Linked DNA regions of Homo sapiens: regions 1, 2, 3, 5, 6 and 7 are each linked to region 4. Evidence: promoter capture Hi-C in 16 types of primary human blood cells and fetal thymus (Javierre and others, 2016). All regions are on one chromosome and are shown on one strand. The core of a region is centred on a gene start or on the middle of the fragment in contact, and the rest is flanking DNA. Distances in the headings are between cores, read along the strand shown.

Region 1 (3,214 bases), core at 1-2,500, 2.0 Mb before region 4:
CTAATCAGCCAGCAACATCGAGGCAAGACCCTCCATCAGCAAAAAATTACAACTTACTGCAGGCTCAGATGATCATTAGCACTTTTGAACAATAAAGTATTTTTAAATTAAAGGTATGTACATTTTTGAGATAATGCTTTTGCACGCTTAATACACTATAATACAGTGTAAACATAACTTTGCACTGGGAAACCAAAAAAATTGGTGTGACTCATTTTATTGCAGTATTCACTTTATTGCAATGGTCTGGAACCAAGTGCACACTATCTCCGAGGTATGCCTGTACATGCAAACCTGTGGAAGATGAAGTAATCTTGCAGTCTTGGATATTTATTTGTTTTGTTTATTTGGAGAGAGGAGGAGGAGTAGCAATAAAAACTGGTAAACATTCAGTTCAGGCAAATTGTCTTAGTGTTTTCTAAAGATGAAGAATCATTTGATGGAATATAACTCACTACTGCTTTTTATTTCAACTAATATTTGAATTAAACACAGCAAAGGAGGAGGAACTCTAAAGGCTCTAATGATGCTCTCTTTAAAGCTTTACCTTGCTCTAAGGTAAAACTTGTTAAGTTTCTCTCACTTTCATTCCATTGCTGTTAATATTTGCCCAAGCAAAAGGTAAGTAAGTACAAAGGAATAGAGGCAGGAAGCTCATAATATATCGTACTGTGGGTAGTCTCAATTGAATTTCAGGGTCAAGTAGCAGACACAAGGCAGACTGCTAAATAGAACACTTTGCACAGTTTGAAAACAGTTGATAATTTTATTATTTGCCAATAATATGTTCTTCTGATGTGATGCATATAATTTAAAATTTTCTCATATCCTAAGTGTAGTTTTTACATGATACAGAAAGTACAGTGAAAAAAATTACCTGTTGCGTATAAGAGAGGCAACATAGATCCAAACAGACAAAACATTTTTGGGGTATGGGTGTATGTATACAGCTAAAGCAAATTCAACATTAGGAACATCAATATTATGTACTCCAGTACTATACACAGCGTCAATTAAAGGCTTCACTTCAGAATAAGGCATGTGAAGAGGAAATCCAGAGAACTGAAGGGAAAAAACATTTGTAGTCATTAGTGAAGTTTGAAGATTTAATACATTTTTTCCTACGTAAATGTATGCAATTAAGATAAGTGTTCTGGATCTCAGTTATTTGCTTGTGTTTTTCTACTCAGCTTTTTATTAGCAATACAGAAAATCGAGAGCTGCTTAATATCCATTTTGTTTTCCTTGCATATAGGTGTATAAGCCACCTGTTAGTCACTCCATCACTGTTCCCTCTTTTTGAAAGTACCTAGTATGCATCGTAACCATTGTAATTCCAGATACATAGGTTAAACTAACAAATACATTTCTTTTTTCTTTTTTTTTTTTTTTTTTGAGACAGGTCTGACTGTTGTCCATGCTAGACTGCAGTGGCATGATCATGGCTCACCACTGCAGCCTCGGCCTCCTGCTGGGCTCAAATGGTCCCCCCACTTTAGCCTCCTGAGTAGCTGGGACTGCAGGCAAGTGCCACCATCCTGGCTACTTTTTGTATTTTTTGTAGAGATGGAGTTTTGCCATGCTGCCAAGGCTGATCTTGAACTCCAGGGCTCAAGCGATCCGCTGCCTCAGCCTCCCAAAGTGCTGGGGTTACAGGTGTGAGCCATAGCGCCCGACAATAATTTTCGTCCCCTTGGCTACAATGATTGATCCACGGGGATGGGCAAGTGATCAAAGGGAGTCTCAGAGGGAATCTTGGGAAACTTGTTAGGAATAATGGCACGTGATGTTCTCCTGCTTTGGGTAGTATGTGCGCAGATGTGAATTCTGTAAGTGTTCCAGCATTTGCTTCCATGAGGAAACCCAGTCTCAGGATGATGCCATCATACGGAAGAGGAGGGCAGAATGGGAGGACTTGCAAAAGAGTGGGACAGCCCTGATAGCTACCCTCTAAGCTTTACTTAAGCCAGTAGATTCTCTATTGCTCAAGCCTTTTTGAGTTTTCTGACACTTGAACTGAAAATATCCTGGCTGAGAACCTGCCTTATAAGTTAAAGGATAAATTTTACTCAGTGAGTGATCTAATTTGACCTTCACACTGTTTAGCTAGTAAGGCTTACTGTTAAGTTTTAGTTACGAGCCTGCTTTGTAGGTTTTATTATCCAGCTATAGCATGTGAACATAGCAGCAGGCAGTAAAGAGGGTATATCGTCTATTAATAACCACCTTTCTTAGCAATGAAAAGCAATCAGTATAAAACCATATCCTTAAAAAAACTGCTCTAGAGTGTTTTGATCCTTATGCACAGTTGTGTCTAACATGATTTAGCCAGATGTTTTCATTTTTTTGATACGTAAATGTATTTCATAAAAGGTATTTTTCATGGGATACTTATATGAAAAATGGTGGTATTTTGCTATTTCATGATTATTGAGGTTTAAAACTTATGATCACAGTTTTTAGTTTATGCTGCTTTAAATATGTACTTCTGGGAGCAACGTGGGTCTTTTGATTCCAGAAACCTATTATTGGCTAATTTCCAATTTGAAACAAGGAAATCCACAGTCAGTTTAGGATCCATTTGTAACTTACCCTGTAGTCTCCCAGCTGTTTTAGCAGTTCTGCTCTGTGGTCATCTTCTACATCTTCTCCTTGACTTTTTTCTAACAGAGGCAAGAAGTGACGCAGAGTAGAGGTACAATACCTATTCCACCGAGTCAGATGGCGTGGCCTCCAGTCCATGATTTTTTCTTTTAGTATTTTTTCAATCCTGTTCACAAAACATAAATTCCATTTTTTGGTGACTCACTTTTCCCTTGTTAAAAAATGTATGTAGTATGTAGTGGGGATTCAGATGATTGTATAACTATATTTTTGTTGATGGAGTTGTGATTATCCAGGCATAGTTAATGTCTAATAATGGGCTACTCCCTGGGGATTCAAAATTAACATGCAGTCCTGTCCTTAAGGGTTGTATATGAGTTGAGATGGGAAATAGTCCTATAAATAGAAAGTATGTGTATCCTAAGAGCTATAACAGATGCTTGAAATGTAACACAGAAGAGGGAGTACTGAATGACTTGGGGATAGCTGAATTCAATACATGCAGCAAAAGTTTATTATTACTAATTTTTTTTAAAGGCAGGATCTTGCTCTGTTGCCCAGGCTGGATTGAAGTGGTACAATCACAGCTCACTGCATCCTCAACTCTCGG
Region 2 (3,207 bases), core at 160-2,659, 1.6 Mb before region 4:
GGAAGACTGCTTGAGCCTAGGAGTTTGATTCCAGGCTGAAAAACACAGCAAAACACCATCTCTACAAAGAAAAAGAAAATTACAAAAAATTAGCCAGGTGTGGTGGCACATGCCTGTAGTCCCAGCTGTTCAGGAGACTGAGGTGGGAGGATCACCTGAGTCTGGGAGATTGAGGCTGCAGTGAGCCATGATTATGCCACTGCATTCCAGCTTGGGTGATAGAGACCCTGTTTCAAAAATAAAAAATATAAAATAAAAAAACTCAAAACAAACAAAAAATACTGTGTTGCTAAAAATTGCTAACAGTCATCTGTGCCTTCAGTGAGTCATAATCTTTTTGCTGGTAGAGGGCCTTGCCTCTGTGTTGATGGCTGCTGACTCATCAAGGTGGTGATTGCTGGAGGTTGGGTTGACACTGGAAATTTCTTAAAATAAGACAACAATAAAGTTTGTCACATTAATTGACTTATTTCCAGAAAAGATTTCCCTGTAGCATGCAATGCTGTTTGATGGCATTTTACCCACAGTAGAACTTTTTCCAAAATTGGAATCAACCCTCTCAAACTCTGTTGCTGCTTTATCAACTAAACATATGTATATTTTACATTTTTTGTTGTCATTTAAACAATGTTCACAGCATCTTCACCAAAAGTAGATTCCATTTCAAGAAGCACTTTCTTTGTTCATTCATAAATGCAACATGGATGAGACTGGGCACGTTCAGGGTGGTATGACCATAGACTATAAGTGCAACTTCATACCCTTTCAAGTTTTATTATGAGACTGCGCAATTCAGTCACGTCTTGAGGCTTCATTTTAAATTCTAGTTCTCCTGTTATTTCTGCCACATCTGCATATGCTTCTTCTGTTGAAGTCCTAAACCCCTCAAAGTCATCCATGAGAGCTGAAATAAACTTCTTCCAAACTTCTGCTAATGCTGATATTTAGACATCCTCCCATAAAATGAATTTAATGGCAGCTAGCATGGTGAATCCTTTCCAAGTTTTCAGTTTACTTTGCCCAGATTCATCAGAGGAATCACCATCTATGGTAGCCATACCCTTATAAATGTACTTTTTAAATAATATTTGAGAGTAAAAATTGCTCCTTGATCCATGGGCAGCAGAAAGGATTCTGAGTGAGCAGGTATAAAAACAACATTAATCTTCTTGTACATTTCCATCAGAGCTCTTGGGTGATCAGGTACGTTGCTAATATGCAGTAATATTTTGAAAAGAATATCTTTTCTTTTTCTAAGCAGTAGGTCTCAACAGTGGTTCTAACATATTCAGTAAACTGTGATATAAACAGATATGCTGAAATCCAAGCTTTGTTGTTTTATTTATAGAGCACATGGAGAGTAGATTTGGCATAATTCTTACTGGCCCTAGGACTTTCAGAATGGTAAATGAGCATTGGCTTCAACTTAAAGTCACTAGCTGCATTAGCCTCTAATAAGAGAGTCAGATTGTCCTTTAATTAAAGCTTTGAAATCAGGCATGACTTCTCCTGTCTAGCTATCAAAGTCTTAGATAGCATCTTCTTCTAATATAAGGCTGTTTTATTAATATTAAATATCTGTTGTTTAGTGTAGCCACCTTTGTAAATATTCTCAGCTAGATCTTCTGGATAACTTGCTGCAATTTCTCCTTCAGCAATTGCTGTTTAATATTGCAATTTTGTTATGAAAATAACTTCTTTCCTTAAACCTCATGAACCAACCTCTGCTAGCTTACAATGTTTTTCTACAGTTCCTTCAGTCTTCAGAGAATTGAAGAGAGTTAGGACTTTGCTCTGGATTAGCCTTTGGCTTAAGGGAATGTTTTGGCTGGTTTGATCTTCTATTAAGATCACCAAAACTTTCTCCATATCAACAATAAGGCTGTCTCGCTTTCTTATCATTTGTGTTCACTGGAGTGCACTTTGAATTTCCGTCAAGAACTTTTCCTTTGTGTTTACAACTTGAGGCTGTTTGGCATGGGCTTTTGGCTTATCCTGGCTTTTGACATGCCTTATTCACTAAGCTAATTGTTTCGACATGTGACTCTTCCTTTCACTTGGACACTTGAGGCCATGCTGGGTTATTAATTGGCCTAATTTCAGTATCATTGTGTCTCAGGGAATAGAGACACTCAAGAGCAGAAACATAAATGGGGGAACTACTGGTCAGTGGAGCAGCCCGTGCACACACAACATTTATCGATTAAGTTTGCAATCGTATATGAGTATGATTTGTGCTGCTCCCAATCAATTGCAATGCTAACATCAAAGATCACTAATCACATATCACCATACAAATATAATAATAATGAAAAAGTTTGAAATATTGTGAGAATTACCAATATACGACATAGTGACATGAAGTGAGAATGTGCTGTTGGAAAAATGACAGATAAACTTGTTCGATGCAGGATTGTCACAAACCTTTAATTTGTGGAAAAGGTAATATCTGCCAAGCTCAATAAAGCAAAGGGCAGTAAAACAGGTATGCCTATACCATAAGCTGGGTGGCTTGTAAACAACAGAAATTTAATTCTCACAGTTTTTGAGACTAGAAGTCTGATATCAGGGTCTCGGCATGGCCCAGCTCCTGGTGAGAGTTGCCTTCTGGATGGCAGACTGCCTACTTCTTCTTGTGTCATCACATGGTAAATGAGATGAATTATCCATCTGGAATCTCTTTTATAAGGGCTCTAATACAAATATTGAGGCTCCGCCCTCATGATCTAATCTCTTCCTAAACGCTCCACTTTCTAATACTATCACCTTGGGGGACAGGATTTCAATGTATGAATTTGGTATTGGGGGAGGTGGGCAGGACACAAACATTCAGCTCAAAGAATGGTGGGATGAGGGCTGGAATCTCCTACTGCACCATTTTGTTGATGTCACTCCCTGAAATATTTATTACCAAATTGCTGTTAAACATTCAGGAAGTGGCTACTCTCCCCATATATGAAATACAAAAATATTATCAAGCAGAACAACTTTGGGATTCAGATGAGGGAAAGAGCAGTTTATGACTTGGAGTGTCTGGGAAAGAAGGTTCTGTGAAAGATCAACTGGATTCAAGACTATCTTTAAAATATGCTGTTGGGACCTGAATATGAGCTCTTTGACCTTCAAACAAATTCAGAACCAGCACCACTCAGATGAACAAACAGTGAGAAGAGATGCCTGAATAGAAAGTTTCAGAGCACTTTGGGA
Region 3 (3,602 bases), core at 1,026-3,525, 1.8 Mb before region 4:
ATATATAAAAACATCTATATCTATATGGATATTTATTTTAGCCAGCTTGTTATATAACAAAAAATGGGAAACAATTTAAATGTCAAGTTAAAGAAACTACTTAAATAAACTAAGGTGAATCCATTTGACTAAATGCCTAAAATAGATTCATTGTAAAGAGCTGCAAAACAATAAGTACATTATTAGTACATGATATATTTGTATATGCATAGAAAAGTACTCTAGGAGGATACTGAACTAAAATATATCGATAGTAGTATTTTTATGAATGTTAAAAATAGAGGACATTTTTGTTTTTAAAATTTAGGTATTTTATATCATTTCATAATACAGAAAAAAACCTGTTTGAACAAAACATAAAGAATACAACTATTTTATTGGAGTTGGGCAATTCTTGGAGCACAGCTATATTGCAAGCAGTTTTAGTTGTTACACCATTCAGAAATCACACCATTTGTAGTGGGCTGAATAGTAGCCCCCTCAAAGACGTGTCTACCCCAAACCTGTGAATGCAAACTTAATTTGAAATAGGGTTTATGTAGATGTAATTAAGGATCTTGAGATGAGATCATCCTGGATTAGGGTGCACCCTAAATCCAATGTATCCTGAGAAAAGAAGGGGAAAAGAGACAGAAAAGAAGGTGAGGTGATGACAGAGGCAGACATGGGAATGTTGTGCCTACGATCCCAGAAACCCCAAGGATTGCCTGTAGCCACCAGAAGCCAGGAGAGAGGCAGAGGATGAATGACCTTGCAGAGCCTCCAGAAGGAACAAACCCTGTCAAAGCCTTGATTTTGGATTTTTGATCTCCAGACCTGCAAGAGAATAAATTTCTGATGTAAACCACCCAGGTTGTGGTAATTTGCTAAAGCAGTCCTGGGAAACTAATACAGCATTACTAGAGTAAGAGGATGAGACAGAATGAGACCAACATTGGACATCCAAAATGAATAACACAGAGCAAAATTGATTGCTGACTCCAAGAGGGAAGGGCTGCGCTGCCTGGGCACATTCTTCTGAGCAGAGCCGACTGCTGGGCTTGCATAGTATTTTGGGGAAGCATGGGACTCAGAGACAGGCAGATTTTCAGGCACCTAAGTAGCTGACATGATCTGTAGAGAGTGATTATTTGGGGGAGATTGTGGTGATTTTGTGAAAATGTATCTGCTTATCATAAAAATTTCAAGGAATTTTATTAAAAAAAAAAAAAACAGAAAAAAGCAAAGCAAAACAAACTTTCACCTCTCAGAAATCATTTTGCCAACATTTGATGAACATCATTCCAGATTCTCTGAGGCACAGGTTTAGCCAGAAGCCTTGCTGGATATAATTTTACAAAAATAAGTTCATACTACGCATGCTATTTTTATAAAAAATGATTGAATGTGAGGTTACTTGAATGTATCAGAATAAAAATAAACTAGAATCCAACTGAAGGAATTGCTGAACTTCAGATATTTCTAAGGTTAGATGACAACTATGAAAAACAATTCCAGAATTTAGTGTCATTTTGCTTTTTAAAACTTTGTATGTTTTAACTTTATACAATATTTATTTATCTTCTGCCATGAAAGAGGAGGGTTTTATTTATTTCATTTTTCCCTTCCACCCCTAGCCTCCCAATTTTTTTCAGTTACATTATTATTTTTGGATTGCCTGGAATTATAACATTTATATTCTTTTCTGTCAAATAATTCCCACTGTTGCTTAGTCTTGATTCGGTTTTGTAAAAGATCTAATACTTGCTCATGTCCTTATTTGGTGGATTCTCCATTGCTGGGTGTTTAATTTTGATTCATGTCTTGCTATGCTAGATTTCATCATCAAATACTTTTCAAGAAGGGCTTTGTTAATACAGTCCTTGAATTCTTACATGTTTAGGAATGCCTGCCTGTTTCTTTTATAGTTATAGCATAGCTTGGCTGAGTGAAAGAAAAAAACCTCTTGGGTCACCTTGTCCCCTTAGAACTTGGTAGAGGTTGCTCTGCTATTTTCTGGTGTTGAGGATTGTGGTGGAGACTAAAGTAACCTGCCAGGCTCCGCTTGTGATATCTGTTCTCTAAACAACACATACAAGACATTTTTCCTTGAATTTTCACAGTCCATATCTTGATGTTACCAATCTTGCTTATTTTTCCTGGGATATGGTGTTCCCTTTACATTTAGAGAAAGCTTTTTTAAACTCAAAAAGCTTTCTTGAATTGACTTTAAGTTTTTTCCTGTTCCTTTTTTTCTGTTCAAAATACCAATTTGGGTATGTCAGCCTCCCTTTTGCTTCAGTTTGTGTTGTCTTGTCTGTAATCATTTTTATCACACTGTTTCTTTCTTTCTCATTTCGTGTGGTATCTGAAGCTTTCCTGTGCTTTCAATAGCATTTATCTGTTTTCTGTTGACTTTGAAGTTGACTTTCATGTCTATAATTGTTTTATTTCATTGATTTCCTGAGCTCTGCTACTTTTTAACTGGTCTTCATCTTATTTCTTTTCTGATCATTTCTATTTCGTTTTTAAACTTTCTTTTCTGAGAAACTACGATGTTGATTCATTTAAGACTGAAGAGAACTGATCTCTGTGTTCTCTGGTGGTGGATCATTTATGATGTATGTAATTTTGTATCTGCCTTCTGTTTTTGATTTTTCTACTTGTTTCCCCCCTCTTGCAATACCCATGCTGGGACCTTTGCCTGGCTTTGGTACTGGTGTCATTCAAATGTGATGAGATGCCTCCAGCTATTTGGCCAACAACAGTGCAGAGGGGGCTTGCAGCATTCAGTTAACCAGGCCCCAGTAGGTTTGTGGTTTCTGTTCTTCCTACTCAGCTGGCCTTGATGAAACATCCCCCTCAGGTTTTGGTGTCCGGGAGGCCAGTGTGGCTCAGGTTGAAGCACTTAAAGATGCAGATTTTGTTGTGGCTGCAAGGTCGCTCCTCCCCACACGCTCCTCATTCCTTTCCACCCCAGACATGGTCTCCTCATCAGAGACTATCCCTACACAACAAAAATGATATGTTTTCCCAGTTCCTCCTCATTTATTTGCCACTCCCTTCCCCCTCGCTATTGTGCAACATGGAAATAGCTCTCTAAAGGAACTATTCTGACTTCTTCTATGTGTGGTATGCAGCACTGGGGTGCGCCCGCTAGTATTTCCGGTTCTGCCCTCCTCTAAGACACTTGGCAGGATCACCCTTCCTCGTCTCTAAAATTAGGCCTGGCTAGAAGAATTGTGTGGGCAGAAAACATGAATTACCTACATGTCCCCTTTCCCCTCCATGGTGAAATCTGAAGCCTTATGCTGTGATGGGGGTATCGGGAAATGGTGATGGTGGCTGGGTCCTGAGGGCCCACAATGAACAAAGACCCTGATTGCTCCATAGTGAGCATGTAACATAAAGGCTTTTGTATTTATGCATCAGTACATAAACCTTTTTGCTGTTTGAAGCCACTGAGATTTGGGATTTGTTGGTTAGTGCTGCCTAACTTAGCCTCTTTGATTAATACAGGGCAAGAAAAGCCAATAATTTCTATAACAAACATTAGGAAGCCTGGGAATTGAGAAGGTCATGAGGTCTGGCTGGAAGGTATGGATCAGAGCAGACCGTTCATC
Region 4 (3,411 bases), core at 53-2,552:
GTATATTTCCCAGAATCTGAAAGAGTGAAAAAATAAGGATTAAGTAAACAAATCCTTTGGCAAGCCAGGTGGTTTTCAGCTCTTTGCTTTCCATAAAATAGAAGGAGGGCCTAATTGAAGTCAGCTCATAGATAATCAAATCTAATTTTTTGAGGTCAAGAATTGAATGATATTGCTACAACAAAACTCTTCCATTCCTAGGCACAGTACTTGTTTATATGAACAAGGTTTCTCAGGGCACACAGCTATAAAAATTACAAATAGGAATAGAATTGATGCTCAACCCTTCTTTTCCTACTAATAAGATATATTCAGCCACAGATGTAGGAACTTTAAAAAGCAACAATATGCATTTTTCAATAAAGTTACACACACTATTTAGTAATTATGAAATTTTCTAATATTTATGTTGCTTTGACCACGTACTAATAATAATTTCAAAGATGATGCAGTCCAAAAGCAGGTGATTTGCTAGCTGTGTAATCTTACTCAACATACTTAATTTATCTGAGCCTTGGTTCCCTGATTTGCAAACTGGGGACAGTAATCAGACCTAGCTCTTAGTGTTTGTCCAAAGATTAAATGCGTTAATACATGTAAAAGCACTTAACGCCACGCTTGGTACATAATATGTGCTATAGATGTTTTACCTGCTATAATCATAGTAATCAATAGCAAATCTCCTAAAAATAAAAGCCTGTCGATTTGTCTTCACAGATAGGAAGAACGGGCTGGAGGGATCGGATCTAATCCACAGGCACACTGCCAGAAACAAGGGACCCCCACGGGGAAATGGTATGTGCAGGCAGAAGAGAGACAGAAGGAACTTGGAGCTACCTGCTGGGACAAGAATAGTGCAGGATCACAGGCTAAGAACGAAGAGGGTTGGGCGAAGTTAGAATGAGCAGATCCACGTAGGGTTCGCATTACAAATGTCTATGGATCTCTATGCACTGCTCCGGGAAACTGGAGCAAGAGAGGCAGGCCTAAAATGCCGTCGCGGATGAAGCGGGGCCAGAAACGCACTGCCCCCGCTCAGACCTAGGGCCCCAGGTGTCGCGCGGGTCGAAGCCCTAACCTCCAGGGACTCCAGACCCCTGCCGGTGACCTAAACCCCACAACCCGCGACCAGCACAGTCTTGTCGTCTCCGTCGCCACAGTCGCCGCCACTTCCGGCGCAGCTCGGCCTCGCGAGGGCGCTTGCGCCCGGCGACGGTCGAAACTGGCTCTTCGCGGCCTCCGTCGCCGGACTTTCGTCAATGTTGTCACCGTCTTTTCCTCCTTTCCCCCAGTTCCCTTTCACTTCCGGGGTTGCTCTGGATCCGCTGGTTCCGTAACAACATCCCGTTGGCTTCCCTCAGGCGGCGGGACCAGTGCAGCCGCCGCCTCCCAGGATCGTCCGCCGGTCAGGGCCCTTGCCCTCCCCGGCACAGGCCACCATGGCCACCAACCCACAGCCGCAGCCGCCTCCTCCGGCGCCGCCGCCTCCCCCGCCGCAGCCGCAGCCGCAGCCACCGCCGCCGCCGCCGGGCCCCGGGGCTGGCCCCGGCGCGGGCGGGGCGGGCGGCGCGGGTGCGGGCGCCGGGGACCCGCAGCTCGTGGCCATGATCGTGAACCACCTCAAGAGCCAGGGGCTCTTCGACCAGTTCCGCAGAGACTGCCTGGCCGACGTGGACACCAAGGTTAGGAGCGCGCCGGGTTTGGGGGTCTGCGAGGGAAGGGGAGGACCCAAGGGCGCGCTTCTTTTGCAGTGGCTTCCTCTTGGAGCTGCAGCTGTGTGCCACGGACTGTGCAAAGCACAGAGTGTTCATTCCTTAGCGTGTCCTTTGGTTCGTTTTACCGACTAGTGTTTAAGTACCTACTACGTGCCAGTCATGGTTTCGGCACAGTGATTACCCCGGTCTGATGAGCAAGACTAAGGCATTGTTCTTACAGGAACTGGTTTGGAAACAGTGGCGCTAACAGTAGCCAGTTTTGTATTCATTCTCATATCTGATGATTTTACTTTGTATCGAAGTTATGTTTGCCTTCTTTCTTGAAGGTTTCTGGGCGGTAAGGGCCTTTATCCTTTGGAGAAATGACTAAATGGTAATTGAATCAAGTTATGTGTAATATGCTTTGCTGGACATCGTGGGGGTGGGAGCGCAAAGATAAGGAGGCAAACCTGAGACAGGACTTTAGTATTGTTTCTAGCAGTGATTGCCTGATTTAGGTAACTTAGGCCATGTCACCATTCTAAGGTAAGAAGGGACAGGAAGGTGGGGTAGAGAGAACCGAGTCATTCAGTGGAGAAAAGATGCAGGAGAGGTGACAGCAGATACTGAAGTGGAGAAAGGACAGGAAAGAGAGCAGATTCAGGAGAGTAATGTAGAGAAGGGAAAGGACAGCAACAAGGTTCCCTGTCCAGAAAGAGAGGCTGGAAAGGGGAAGGGATTTTGTACCAAATGTCAGAGTGAAAGGGACATTAGCAGGAACAAGTAAACTTAGCTGGATTGGCAAAGAATTAGCCAAAGACACCAGGAAAGAGCAGTCAGTGAGATGGATGGAAAACCACAGTACAGTCTAGAATTCTGGAAGCAGAAAGCATGTTGGAAAATTAACTGGTTTGTAGGGGTTGTTTTTGTCTGCTTGTTAAATCTGGTTGGGTCCATTGGATTGGAGTTTTGATGAAATGAGGGTTTCCTTTTTTTTTTTTTTTTTTTTTTTTGAGACAGAGTCTCGCCCTGTCGCCAGGCTGGAATGCAATGGCGTGATCTCGGCTCACTGCAACCTCCGCCTCCCGGGTTCAAGCGACTCTCCTGTCTCAGCCTCCCAAGTAGCTGGGATTACAAGCGCGTGCCACCACGCCCTGCTAATTTTTGTATTTTTAGTAGACACAAGGTTTCACCGTGTTGGCCAGGATGGTCTCGATCTCCTGACCTCGTGATTCGCCCAGTAGGCATGAGCCACCGCGCCCGGTCGAGGGTTTTCTCATAGTATGTTTAGTTGTTCTGAGGAGCTTTGTATCTTTGAGAAATGCATGTTTACAACATCCACAGTTTCTTCTAAAGCTTTCAGGTGAACTGCACACAGTTCCACTATGTCTTCTGGGGAAACTCTTGAATATCCTGGTACATCTTCCTTTATAAGGACTCATACTGGGCCCACTATGTAAAACGTGGTTTTTCGGGATATTGGAGGTTTTGCACCACAGAGAATTCAATTCACTTGGGAGTGTTCATCTATTTAGGAAGTATAGTTTTTTTTACTTTTGTCTTCAGGAATATGCACTGCTACCTTTTAGAAATAATTTCTATTGCCTTTATTATTTTTGTTGTTATTTAATGGGAAAAGGTTAGACATGGCCAGGTAAATGTTATCAAATAAAGTTAGTTATTCGTATTCAACAAGTGGAATTTTTACTTTGCTGTT
Region 5 (3,670 bases), core at 918-3,417, 1.8 Mb before region 4:
TCTTGTAAAAGATAGTACTTTTGTAATGAAAGAGCATCTATGCAACCCCTTAGAGTTTATGATTTTTCTCCTTTTAGTGCTAGCAGATCATTTTTTGGAACCCTAACTATATTGGGCAAGTCTTTACTTCGGTAAGTTCTGCCACCTCCATGATGGCACTGGAGTGAAGCCATGAATTCAGTCTTCTTCATATAGCTGCTCATAAATGCCTTTGCCATCTGACAAATGCATTGGTTCTGAATGACTTCATACTGTTGTAATCCATTGGGTTCATAGTTCTGGACTAAGAAAAACTCAATAAAATGATGTAAACTCAAGACTAATTTCCCTCCCTGTTCTAGTTAGGAAGAAACAATTTAAAAACATATAAACTAGTATTACTTGGTGGTAATCTTGCTTTAAAAAATCCTCTGGAATAGACATCCAGGTACGCCACCAGGAAACTTTAAGAATGATATCGTGTTTTACACTTCAACTCCTAAGAGTTTTATTTCTCTCTCCTTAGACATTTTCTCTGCAATTTTTGGAAACAAAATAATATGCAACTAGCCTAAGAGCATACATAAAATATTTTATGTAAAATGAGTACAATGTTTATTGTAAAAATTAAAAATAAAGGTCAAAAGAGTAGAGATTTAAAATTCCCCATTAATATTTTAATTTAGACTTTTTCTATGCATATGGGCAAACAGACTTTAAAAATGAAATGAGTACTGAAAATATTCCTCAGTCATCTACTTTGTTTAGTTAATATTTTGTGAATATCTTATGGTGCCAATACATTTCCATCCTCTTTTTTTTAAAGACAGGGTTTCCCTATGTTGCCCAGACTGGCCTCAACTCCTGAGCTCAAGCAGTCCTCCCCAGCAGCTGGAACTACAGGTGCAAGCTCTTGTGCCTGGTGGGGCATCCTCATCATTTTTTATGACTCTGTTTCATTGGATGAGTGTATCACAGCTCATTTCACCCATGTTGAGGCTATTTCTCAATTTTCCATATTGCAAGCTTTGCTGCAGGGCTCTTTCTGCAATTAAACCTTTGCACACATTATTAATTATTTTCTTGGAGTAAATTCTTAGAAATAGGAGACTTGGTGATTTTTGTATCTTAGAAAACATTTTAAAAAATCCTGGCTATAGTAAAAGAGAATTTGGATGAGGGCACAGTTTCTTGCTCTTCCTGTACACCTTCCAGGATGGAGTCTCTTTAACTTGGGATTCTCACAAGGGAAGAGATATCATACCTGAAATGAGGAGCAGCTATGGGGTCATTTCTGTAAATAAAGGTCAGTTGGAAAAAGTAGATTTGGGGGGCTGTGTAGACTCTCTCACCATGACAAGACTGTACAGATATGGTTCACAAGTGGTTCTCAATTTTGACCCCCCAGGAGACATTTGGCAATGATGGGAGATATTGTTGCTTGTGATGACTCACGTGGTTGGGTGGAGATGCTACTAGCATCTAGTGGGCAGAGGCCAGGGATGCTGCTAATGTCCTATGATGCACAGGACAGCCCTTAAAAAAAGAAGGATCTGGCTCAAAGTGCAAGATTCCTACCAAATTTAGGAAACAGTGATGCAGAGCAGAAATAAAAAGGGATCAATGAGTCTCTTGAAAACCATGGTACAGCACTGCAAATTTTATGTTTTCTTTTCTTTCAAAAGAGTCTTCAGTTACCCAATATATTTGGCATGTCTCAGGCTGATCTACAAACCACATTAGGGAACACACAAGGCCTGTGGAATGTGTGGTCCTACTTGCTCCTGGCTTCTGTTAGGATTAATCTTGACAAGAATGTGTAGTGTGTATAGAGGAATTTAGACTGCCTGGATTTTTCTAAGCATGATAGTACAACGATGATGCTAAAAGATTGCCTAGGTTCCTTTTGTGGAACTAAACCAAATGCAGAGGGTCAGCATCAATCCTTTGGGGCCAGTCTCTGTTCCTTGGGCAGAGCAAAGTAGGTTGTTATATTTGGGACTCCTTAGAGTTTGCCGAGCTGCATGTTCTGGCCGCACTGAATATTTTGATCATGAGTAAGCCAGTCATGATTGTGACAGGCTTAGCTCCCAGCTAAGGTCAGAGGAAAATGATGTTTGCTAGGATCAAAGGAAGATAATTGTGGATATTGCATTTCCTCCATAATGCAATGATCTTGCTGTGAAAACATGTCTTAAAGAAGAGGCCTTGAGAGGCAGGGGAGTGCATGTGTGTGTGCTCATGACAGGGCATGGGCATTGGAGGTGGATGGGCAGAGCTAGAATATCCCACATTTATTAAGGCTTGTCATGGGCAAATTGCTCAATTGCTCTGAGCCTCAGTACTGTTACCTCTAAAGGGGTAAGAAGAGTATTTAACTCATGATGAGCTGGAAAGCTACTAGGTTAGAATCTTGAACTCCTAAATCTCCACCAGCTGTTTGTTGCTGTTGCAAGTTTAGGAGAGGGACTTAGGAGGGACACTGTGGCAAAAACCCTCTGTTCATCAGTCCAAGGACTTCACTCCAAGATCCCATGCAATTTTTTTGTAAGTGGAGCTGGGCCACATCTGAGACTCAAGGGTTCCTTGTGCATAAATTACACAGCTCTGGAAAAATGTTCCTTCTGCTGTATGCATTCAAGGAACCAGTAAAAACAGGAAGCCAGTTTTATTGCATAAGCTGTGTGGAGTTTTAGAGAGACTAGAGAAGGAAGAGATCTGGGAGGGGAGCCCTGTGCTGGTTGATTTCCGTTGCTCCTACCCTCTCTCCTGGCTCCCATCCATCTTCTATCCCTGTCTGTTCTGAGTTTTGCCCAAGAAGTTCATCTCTGTGCACTGCATCACCAAGACTATCTGGGCACCTGGAGTCATGGGCTTTGACCAGTGAGGGGTATAAATAGGAGACTGAAAGGTAGAAGAGGGTGGTCAGGGGATTCACAGTCCTGGCTTCTTCCCTACTTCTGGCAGTGGCTGAGCTCTTCTGCAGGTGTAGTTCCTGTAGGCTGGTCCCTCTGCCAAGTCTCCAGTTCTTCACTGCACTTTGCAACCACCACTGCCTCTCCTCCTTTTCAGGATTTGGGATGGTGAAGCATTCCTGCTGTTGCTAGTCCTTGGATACTTCAGCATCCCTGCATGGTTCTTTTCACCCCACCTGCACCTTTAATACAGTTCTTTCATTTGACCTTCCATAGTGAAATCCTTTTGAAAGTGTTATGCTGCCTTCTGCCTGAACACTGATAGGCACATCCTGGAGAGAGAAGAACCCCTAGAGAACTTGGTATGTGGCCTTGAGAGTCTTTGAACTTCTCCATTCTGATGCTGAAGCGGCATCCCAGAACTTGGGAAGCTTCCATCCCAACGTCCATACAAATGCTACTTTTCTTTCTTTTCTTTTCTTTTCTTTTCTTTTCTTTTCTTTTCTTTTCTTTTCTTTTCTTTTCTTTTCTGTGTGTGGGTGTTTTTTTTTTTTTTTTTTTTTTAAGAGAGGAAGAAGGTGAGAGTGGTACTGAATTCTCTCTAGAGGTTAGAAGAATGCGCCACTGACAGGGGCTTTTCCTGAGGATAAAATAAAGTACCATGCTGAAAGGATCCAGTATGGTGCCATTTACTAGGCACACAGTAAATGGTAACTGCTGGTATCATGAGACACTGACTGGTGATCTCTCAAGGAAACAAGAAGGAAAACATGAGG
Region 6 (3,302 bases), core at 430-2,929, 1.8 Mb before region 4:
TGTGTGTAGTAAAATGCCTAGCACAGGCTGGGCTCTCAATATTGGTAGGTTTTGTTACTAAGAAAAAGTGATTGTGGGGAGGGAAAGTGGAAAAAAGGAATGAGGAGGGAAAAGAGCTTGGGGGATAGAAGAGGAGTCATGAGAAAGACCTTAGGTGATGTTCAAGCCCACCCACCTTCAGCTCCAATCTTCAACCCCCAGCTACCATAACTCATGTTTCATGTCTCCCTCCCTTCAGCCAGGCCCAGGGCAGTTGCCTTGCTGTTTCCATTTATGGTGCTTCTGAAACCTCCTGCACTTCTACCCATGAGTATTTTCTTCCTCACACCCTGAGAACATTTTTCTGTTCCCTCCTGGAGCTTGGACACCTGGGGAGGTGCCACATACATTGTTTTGGAATACATTATCTTATTCTACAAGTTATTCCAGCTGCAGTTTCCCTTAGCATAAGGTTAGTGACCAATAGCTTTATAGAATCATTTAATCAGCTCGATATAATGTACACTGGCCTTGAAGAGTACACATGAGTACCATATTTGAGCTGTGTTACGTGATATATGACCAGTGCATTTACATGATGTGCTAAGTACTGGAAGCCCCTCCCTGGATGTCATCCCACTGTCCTCTCAGTGTTTTTATAAATCTCTTATGGCACTTAGCTCATTGTACTCTTATCATGTGTTTATAGGTCTGTTTTCCCAGCAAATTCTGAGCTTCTGACCTAGTCTAATTTATGTTTGCACACTCTAAACTTAAATTCATTGCCTGGTGCATTGTTGATGCTCCATAAATGTTTGAATGAATGACTCTATAAGTGAGCTCTAGGATATATATATATATATATATATATATATATATATATATATATATAGAGAGAGAGAGAGAGAGAGAGAGAGAGAGAGAGAGAGAGATTTCATGCTGGTGCTGAATTTATTTGCAGAAAAGGTTATATGAAAATGCAGTAGCAAACATATTTCTTATTTGACTTTATTAGCTTTTCATACCACCTCTTTGCAATGAAGGGAAACAAACAATCAGCTTAAGTTGTAGCCAGTACATTTTCTTGAAGTCTTTGGAAAGCACAGCAACTCTTAGCACTGTGGTTAGTAGCCCTTTCTCTGTCTCATACCAAGAAAAGTGTATTTTGCAGTAATTAGTGCTTCTCCCCTTAAGCCAGTTTGAACTAAAAGGCCCATAAATGCAACACGCAGCTAATGTTTCACAGAGCTTTGGTCAGAGAGCATTTTCACTCAGGACTTGTGATGAACTGGACTTACATTTCCTGCAAACCAGATACCAGATAGCAGCTCAAATCAAAGCTGCCAAGTAATGGTCTATGTTCCCATTTCAGAAAGTAAAAACATAAATAACGATGAGAGCCCCTAAATTTACAATTCATTAAATCCAGTCTCACGGTATCCTGGAGAGGCTGAACTTCAAGCCGGGTAACTGAAAACAGGAAATCACTGTTGCAGCCTAAAGTCCGGTTAGGGACTGATTTACCTTAAGAAACTTTACAAAAGGCACTTTGCAGATTCTGCATTCTAGGATGGAAGTGGAGAGAGACGGTGCTGTTGAATCTTTTAAAAGGGTCCGGAGGGAAAGGCTGAGTGTTGGAGATGCCCCTGGGCTCCTCCCTGGGAAGCTGCAGCCATGTCTTGGAGCAAAAACACCAGCTTAGCAACCCGTTCCTAAGGAAGGTCACTCGGTAGCTTTTTTTTTTTTCCTTTAAAGTGACAGGCTACTTCCAGTAGTGGAGTACAAGCATGCTGGGTAAGCAGAGACGCACAGCCTGCAGTAGAAGGACGGAGAGAAATCAACATGAGCAGCACTGGAAATTAGGTCAAGCCTTAAGAGCTGCCCCTCCCTCATGTCATCCGGTCGTCTTGCATTTCCAATGAAGAACAGGCTCAGAGGTGGGGGGATTTAGAATCTTAAAAGGTCGTCATTACATGGTGAAGCTGTCTAACGTGGCAGCAGCAAAAGCTCTGTGGAGGTGCTGCAGAGTACCAACAAATGTTGCACTTGAGTGTTTTCCAGTTAAAAGTGGAAGGTTGAACGCACAAGTTTAATCTTTGCCTATTCTCTGAATCCCACTGCAATTCCTGAAAACGGATATAAATGTTATGGCTCAAAAAAGTTGGAAAAAAAAAAAGAGGGAGAGGTAGGAGGCAAAGTAGCTGGAAGAGTAATAGAATGAATGGAGCCAAGGAAACACACTCCAATAGACTAGTGTGTATGTGCACATGTGTTTGTGTGTATTTGTGTCTGTGTGTATGGTGTGTGTATGTTTGTGTGTATGTGTATTGACTGTATCTTCTTATTTTCTGTATTCTTGATGCTCTGGCATTTGGAGCCTTGATCCTGGAGAAACTGATTCTCCTATGTTAGCTAATTTCTAGAGATAGCAAATGATTCCCCTGAAATATGCAAAGTCTCCTTTGATATACAAGCCAACCAATCCAGAGCCCACACAACCATCTCCATTATCAAACTCTCACACACTAAGCCAATATTCCTCCTGTCCTAAGTCACCCCAGGTCCAGATACCAGACCACTATAGCCCAGAGAACACCACGATTATTCAAGCTATCCACTCCTAAATTTATGCAGCACCCTACCCTGCTTCACCTATTCCTTCCTGGGAAAACCCTAGTAAAGGCTCTGTGCTGTACTCTGCTGTCTCCGTTCTGCCTTCTGACCAACATTGGTTCTTCCCTATGTGGTCCTGTGTGGCATGCCATGTTCTATGATTTGAATGTGTCTTCCCAAAAGCATGTATTGGAAACTTAATCCCTAACACAATGGTGTCGGGAGGTGGCACCTAATGAGAGGCAATTAGGCTGTAGGGCTCTGCCCTCATAAATGCATTAATGCCATTATTGCAGGAGTGGATTCCTTATAAAAGAATGAATTTGGCCTCGTTTTCTCTCTTTCTCTTTCTTGCTCTCATGTTTTCTTGCCTTGCACCATAGGATGGTGCAGCAAGAAGACCCTTGCAGGATGCCAGCCCCTTGATCTTGGACTTCCCAGCCACCAGAACTGTGAAAAATAAATTTCTGTTCATTATAAATTGCCCAGTCTGTGTATTCTGTTACAACAACAGAAAACGAACCAAGACACCATGCTTCTTGTTTCTAGGGATCTGTTAAGTATAAACTTCTTCTTTTGTGCCAATCATGTTTGTGTCTGTGTGTCTTACCATACCTAATTAAAACAAATCCAGAGTACATTTTTTGACACAGCCTGCATGCATGTGTATGTGTCAATGTATTTGTGTTTGTGTCTCTGTACGTGTATGT
Region 7 (3,423 bases), core at 830-3,329, 1.6 Mb before region 4:
CCCGAGCCTCTTTCCTTAATTTTATGACTTTGTGTTTTTCCTTTGGCCAAATACCAAGGAATATTATCTAATCCCTGTAGAGTTGTACATGGAGTTCAGCCTCGGCTCATTGCAGATCTCATTCAACTGCCATTCATCTGAAGACTTGAAGAAAATGTAACTGGCTCTTGGGCGTTCACTTAGCAGAAATAGAACTTTGGGAAGTGTCAAAAAGCATCTTTAAAAAGATAAATAAAGTCTGTGACCAACACTAGATTTCAGATCTGAAAGCAACTTCAGAAGCCAACAAGCCAACATCTTCATTTTATAGATAAAGCATGACAGGAGAGACCCAGGGACTTGGGCAACGCCTCTCGCCAATGAGGGCCAGAGCAGGGCTGGTGGATCAGGCCTCCTGACTCTGCCCTTGCCATTCAATCTGGGCCCTTTCGGGGGCAACCCATAGGAAATAACCGATGTATATTTCAGACAAATTCAAATCAAGTTCAAACAATCAAATATCTGAAGAGCTGCCCTGTCCCAAGGGTCTTTGACCACACTCTTCTTCTGTCTGGGATGCTCCTCTTCCCCTGGTTCACCTGGCTGGCTCCTTCTCGTCCGACAGATCTCAGCATAAATGCTGCATCCACGGAAAGACCTTTGAACGTCCAGTCTAAAATTGATCCCCTATTATTACCTCTCATAGAGTCCAGTCTTTCCTTCATACATTTAGCAGAGTTTTTTAGTAAGTGTACTTGTCTATTTCCTCTCTCAACCAATGCCCTTTACAGTCTATGCAATCAAGGACCAAGTCTGTTTTCTTAACTCCTCTGTTAAGTGCCTGGCATGTGTGAGGGCTGGGTGTTCTCCATTTGTCCCCCAACCCAAACACTCCAGTCTTCGTCCTGCCCTGGACGTGGGAAGCTGACCTGCATTGACTGCATCCATAGATTCCTATGACCTCTGGCTTCTGGTTAGGTTCTGCCAACAAGAGGTGCAGGTGGGAGATGAAAGGGCAGAAGAGGGAGGTCTGTTTTCATCCTTTTGCTCCGTCCCATGCAGGTTAGCAGGCTGCAGTGTGTAAGGTGGAATCCTTCTATCCCAAGCCACAGATTCTGTCTGGGCTGTCTCCTAGAGTTAACTTCTCCTTCTTCCTGCCCCTTTGGAGTGGTAGAGGTGGTAATGGCTCCCCTCCGTGGCTAGCCGTAGTTAATGCACCAAATCATTGTTTTATTTTAACCTCACCCAAACCTTTGGAAATATGTGTATCATTTATTAAATGTTTCTCAGGGACTTCATCCTAATATGCTTTCTTTGTCTTGCTGAGTCTCTAACAGATGCAATAGATGTTTAATAAGTTTTCGTTACATGTATTAAAATGGAAGAAGGATCAGATGAATTTCATAAGAGCTCCAGGGTGGAGAACTGAGATCACTGGGTAGAAATCAGTGAAACAGGCTAGTGGCATGTTTGAAGGAGAAGACATCAGAGAAATGTGAAGGCAATTGTCAAGGAAGGTGAATGGCTCTTGTATTGAGATTGCAATAGATGCTTGCTGAATGAAATAGTTTTAGCCATTACCATGCTGCATAGATCTTGTTAAAGTTTGCTTTTTAGGTGGCATCTAAAAGGGTGTGTTTGGGGATATAGTTTCCTGAAGCACGTAGAAGCGGTGTTTGGATTCAAACTCCATGAATGGCACTATCAAGGCCAGTTCTGGAGAAGGCAGAGCTGCCATTGGCTCCAAATGGTAGTTGTCCTGTTCTGACAGCCTGCCTGATCTTGGTGTCCAAGTGAGTCTTTGGGGCTCATCTACATACAATACAGGTCAGTTTTTCCTTCTCCCCTGATGAAAAACAAAAAGGCTGGACTAAGTAATTTGCACAACCTCTTTCAATTCTAAAATTCCCCAGTTCAGTGTTTCCATGATGTGAACTGGGTATGGTGTGACTTGGGAATTCTTACAAAGGAAGACAAGAGTATCAGGAGTGTATTTTGCCTTGAGTGGGTGGAGGCATCTTAGTGGCTGCTAAAGCTGACATTTGTCAGAACTCTGCTTCACCCTTTAACCGTAGACTCTTAGGTCAGTCAAGCCTACCCACACACCACGTGGCCAGTGTCCACCCACAAGCATTTCCAACTTGCAGGCAGGGATGGAGTTTCCCTCATCATTGTACTCTCCAACATGGAAACTGGCATGCTGAAGGTGCTCAATGAAATGAACATTCAGAGAATAGAGGAAATTAATGTTCATGGCAGAATTCCCTGGCTTCTCCTGGTCACTGCCTTTAAGACTATTTTGATTCTGAATTTTCCTGGCTCCTAAGCCCTTTTGACTAAATGTTCTGTTCCTGGCCCCATATTTTCTGCTTGGAGCCAGTGGCAGCTCTGCCTTCTCCAGAACTGGCTTGGTAGTGCCATTCGTGGAGTTTGAATCCAAACACCGTTTCTACGTGCGTCAGGAAACTATATCCCCAAACACACCCTTTTAGATGCCATCTATAAAGCAAACTTTAACAAGATCTTCAAGTAATGAGCAAAATGGGTCTCCCTCTTTCCATCTCACCTAATTCCTGATCTTTGCTTGATCACTAACTTACATTTTCTTAACCCCTACGTGAAAGAACAATGGTTTTCTGAGTAATAAACTGTTTAGAATATCAACACATTCTCAGGAACAAAAAACCCAAAATTAACTTGTTCTAAGAAAATGTCACAGACCCCTCCTGTGGCAGTAGTTGTTCAATACATTTAGTAGTAAAAATATGCCATGTGTCCATCAATTTCAATTTCCTTTCATCTTTTGGTCACTGAGCTATTTTTATCACAACACTTTCATTCCAAAGATGTATTTTTTCCCCTTATATCTACCAATTCTCCAATTCTCCAGACACCAGCTGGGTCCCCTACATTTCAATTCAATTTTTTTGCCAACTACCAAGAGTTAGCATACACCTCTTAGTTAGAGCTCAGTCCCATAAGACAGCTCCCACTTCAGACACTAGTCACAAGTCCTGAGCTCTCTATACTTCTAATAGGCTATACATCGGGGGTTCCCATGACCCCCTTCTCAGGTTTAATAATTTGCAGAACAGCTCACAAAACCCAGGGAAACATTTCGTTTATGTTTTCTCGATTTTTTTTTTTTTGAGACGGAGTCTCGCTCTGTCGCCCAGGCTGGAGTGCAGTGTCACGATCTCTGCTCACTGCAACCTCCACCTCCTGGGTTCAAGTGATTCTCCTGCCTCACCCTCCTGAGTAGCTGGGATTACAGGTGCACGCCACGATGCCCAGCTAATTTTTGTATTTTTAGTAGAGACGGGGTTTCACCATATTGGCAAGGCTGGTCTTGAACTCCTGACCTCGTGATCCGCCCGCCTCGGCCTCCCAAAGTGCTGGGATTACGGGTGTGAGCCACCGCACCTGGCCTCTGGCTTATGATAA

Evidence for each region. The method cuts DNA at HindIII sites, captures the fragments that hold promoters and counts their contacts. A CHiCAGO score of 5 or more calls a contact.
Region 1: a contact is called between a fragment that was not itself captured here and the fragment with the promoter of BOD1L1 in region 4, in 1 of 17 cell types (naive CD8 T cells). The highest score is 5.1, in naive CD8 T cells.
Region 2: a fragment that was not itself captured here is called in contact with the fragment with the promoter of BOD1L1 in region 4 in 1 of 17 cell types (total B cells); the score reaches 6.7 in total B cells.
Region 3: a fragment that was not itself captured here is called in contact with the fragment with the promoter of BOD1L1 in region 4 in 5 of 17 cell types (total B cells, fetal thymus, total CD8 T cells and 2 more); the score reaches 9.9 in total B cells.
Region 5: a fragment that was not itself captured here is called in contact with the fragment with the promoter of BOD1L1 in region 4 in 3 of 17 cell types (naive B cells, total B cells and monocytes); the score reaches 6.7 in naive B cells.
Region 6: the fragment with the promoter of CC2D2A here is called in contact with the fragment with the promoter of BOD1L1 in region 4 in 9 of 17 cell types (monocytes, M0 macrophages, total B cells and 6 more); the score reaches 13.4 in monocytes.
Region 7: a fragment that was not itself captured here is called in contact with the fragment with the promoter of BOD1L1 in region 4 in 1 of 17 cell types (naive CD8 T cells); the score reaches 5.8 in naive CD8 T cells.

What each region holds. Positions count from the first base shown.
Region 1 is chr4:15,599,085-15,602,298 of GRCh38, reverse strand. It overlaps CC2D2A (coiled-coil and C2 domain containing 2A), which reads right to left. Exons shown (of 37, transcript NM_001378615.1): 36 at 2,593-2,770; 37 at 747-1,062. The coding sequence ends at 874. Among named protein-coding and RNA genes, the nearest start is that of FBXL5, 55 kb to the left of the region's middle. The HindIII fragment of the contact is 1,414 bases long and covers 544-1,957 here.
Region 2 is chr4:15,259,756-15,262,962 of GRCh38, reverse strand. The region is part of intron 2 of C1QTNF7-AS1 (C1QTNF7 antisense RNA 1); the gene reads left to right. Among named protein-coding and RNA genes, the nearest start is that of C1QTNF7-AS1, 170 kb to the left of the region's middle. The HindIII fragment of the contact is 157 bases long and covers 1,331-1,487 here.
Region 3 is chr4:15,400,595-15,404,196 of GRCh38, reverse strand. The region is part of intron 1 of C1QTNF7-AS1 (C1QTNF7 antisense RNA 1); the gene reads left to right. It also overlaps a transcript of C1QTNF7 not described here. Among named protein-coding and RNA genes, the nearest start is that of C1QTNF7-AS1, 26 kb to the left of the region's middle. RefSeq lists enhancers at 2,788-2,847, 2,978-3,097. The HindIII fragment of the contact is 161 bases long and covers 2,195-2,355 here.
Region 4 is chr4:13,625,616-13,629,026 of GRCh38, reverse strand. It overlaps BOD1L1 (biorientation of chromosomes in cell division 1 like 1), which reads left to right and starts at 1,302. Exons shown (of 26, transcript NM_148894.3): 1 at 1,302-1,682. The coding sequence starts at 1,440. It overlaps MIR5091 (microRNA 5091), which reads right to left and starts at 1,162; the gene lies at 1,070-1,162. RefSeq lists enhancers at 412-1,142, 1,146-1,305, 1,143-1,873 and a silencer at 1,446-1,645. The HindIII fragment of the contact is 7,220 bases long and covers 1-3,052 here.
Region 5 is chr4:15,450,301-15,453,970 of GRCh38, reverse strand. No RefSeq gene overlaps it. Among named protein-coding and RNA genes, the nearest start is that of CC2D2A, 18 kb to the left of the region's middle. The HindIII fragment of the contact is 2,320 bases long and covers 1,008-3,327 here.
Region 6 is chr4:15,468,259-15,471,560 of GRCh38, reverse strand. It overlaps CC2D2A (coiled-coil and C2 domain containing 2A), which reads right to left and starts at 1,679. Exons shown (of 37, transcript NM_001378615.1): 1 at 1,504-1,679. The HindIII fragment of the contact is 6,808 bases long and covers 1-3,302 here.
Region 7 is chr4:15,236,639-15,240,061 of GRCh38, reverse strand. The region is part of intron 2 of C1QTNF7-AS1 (C1QTNF7 antisense RNA 1); the gene reads left to right. Among named protein-coding and RNA genes, the nearest start is that of C1QTNF7-AS1, 190 kb to the left of the region's middle. The HindIII fragment of the contact is 8,921 bases long and covers 1-3,423 here.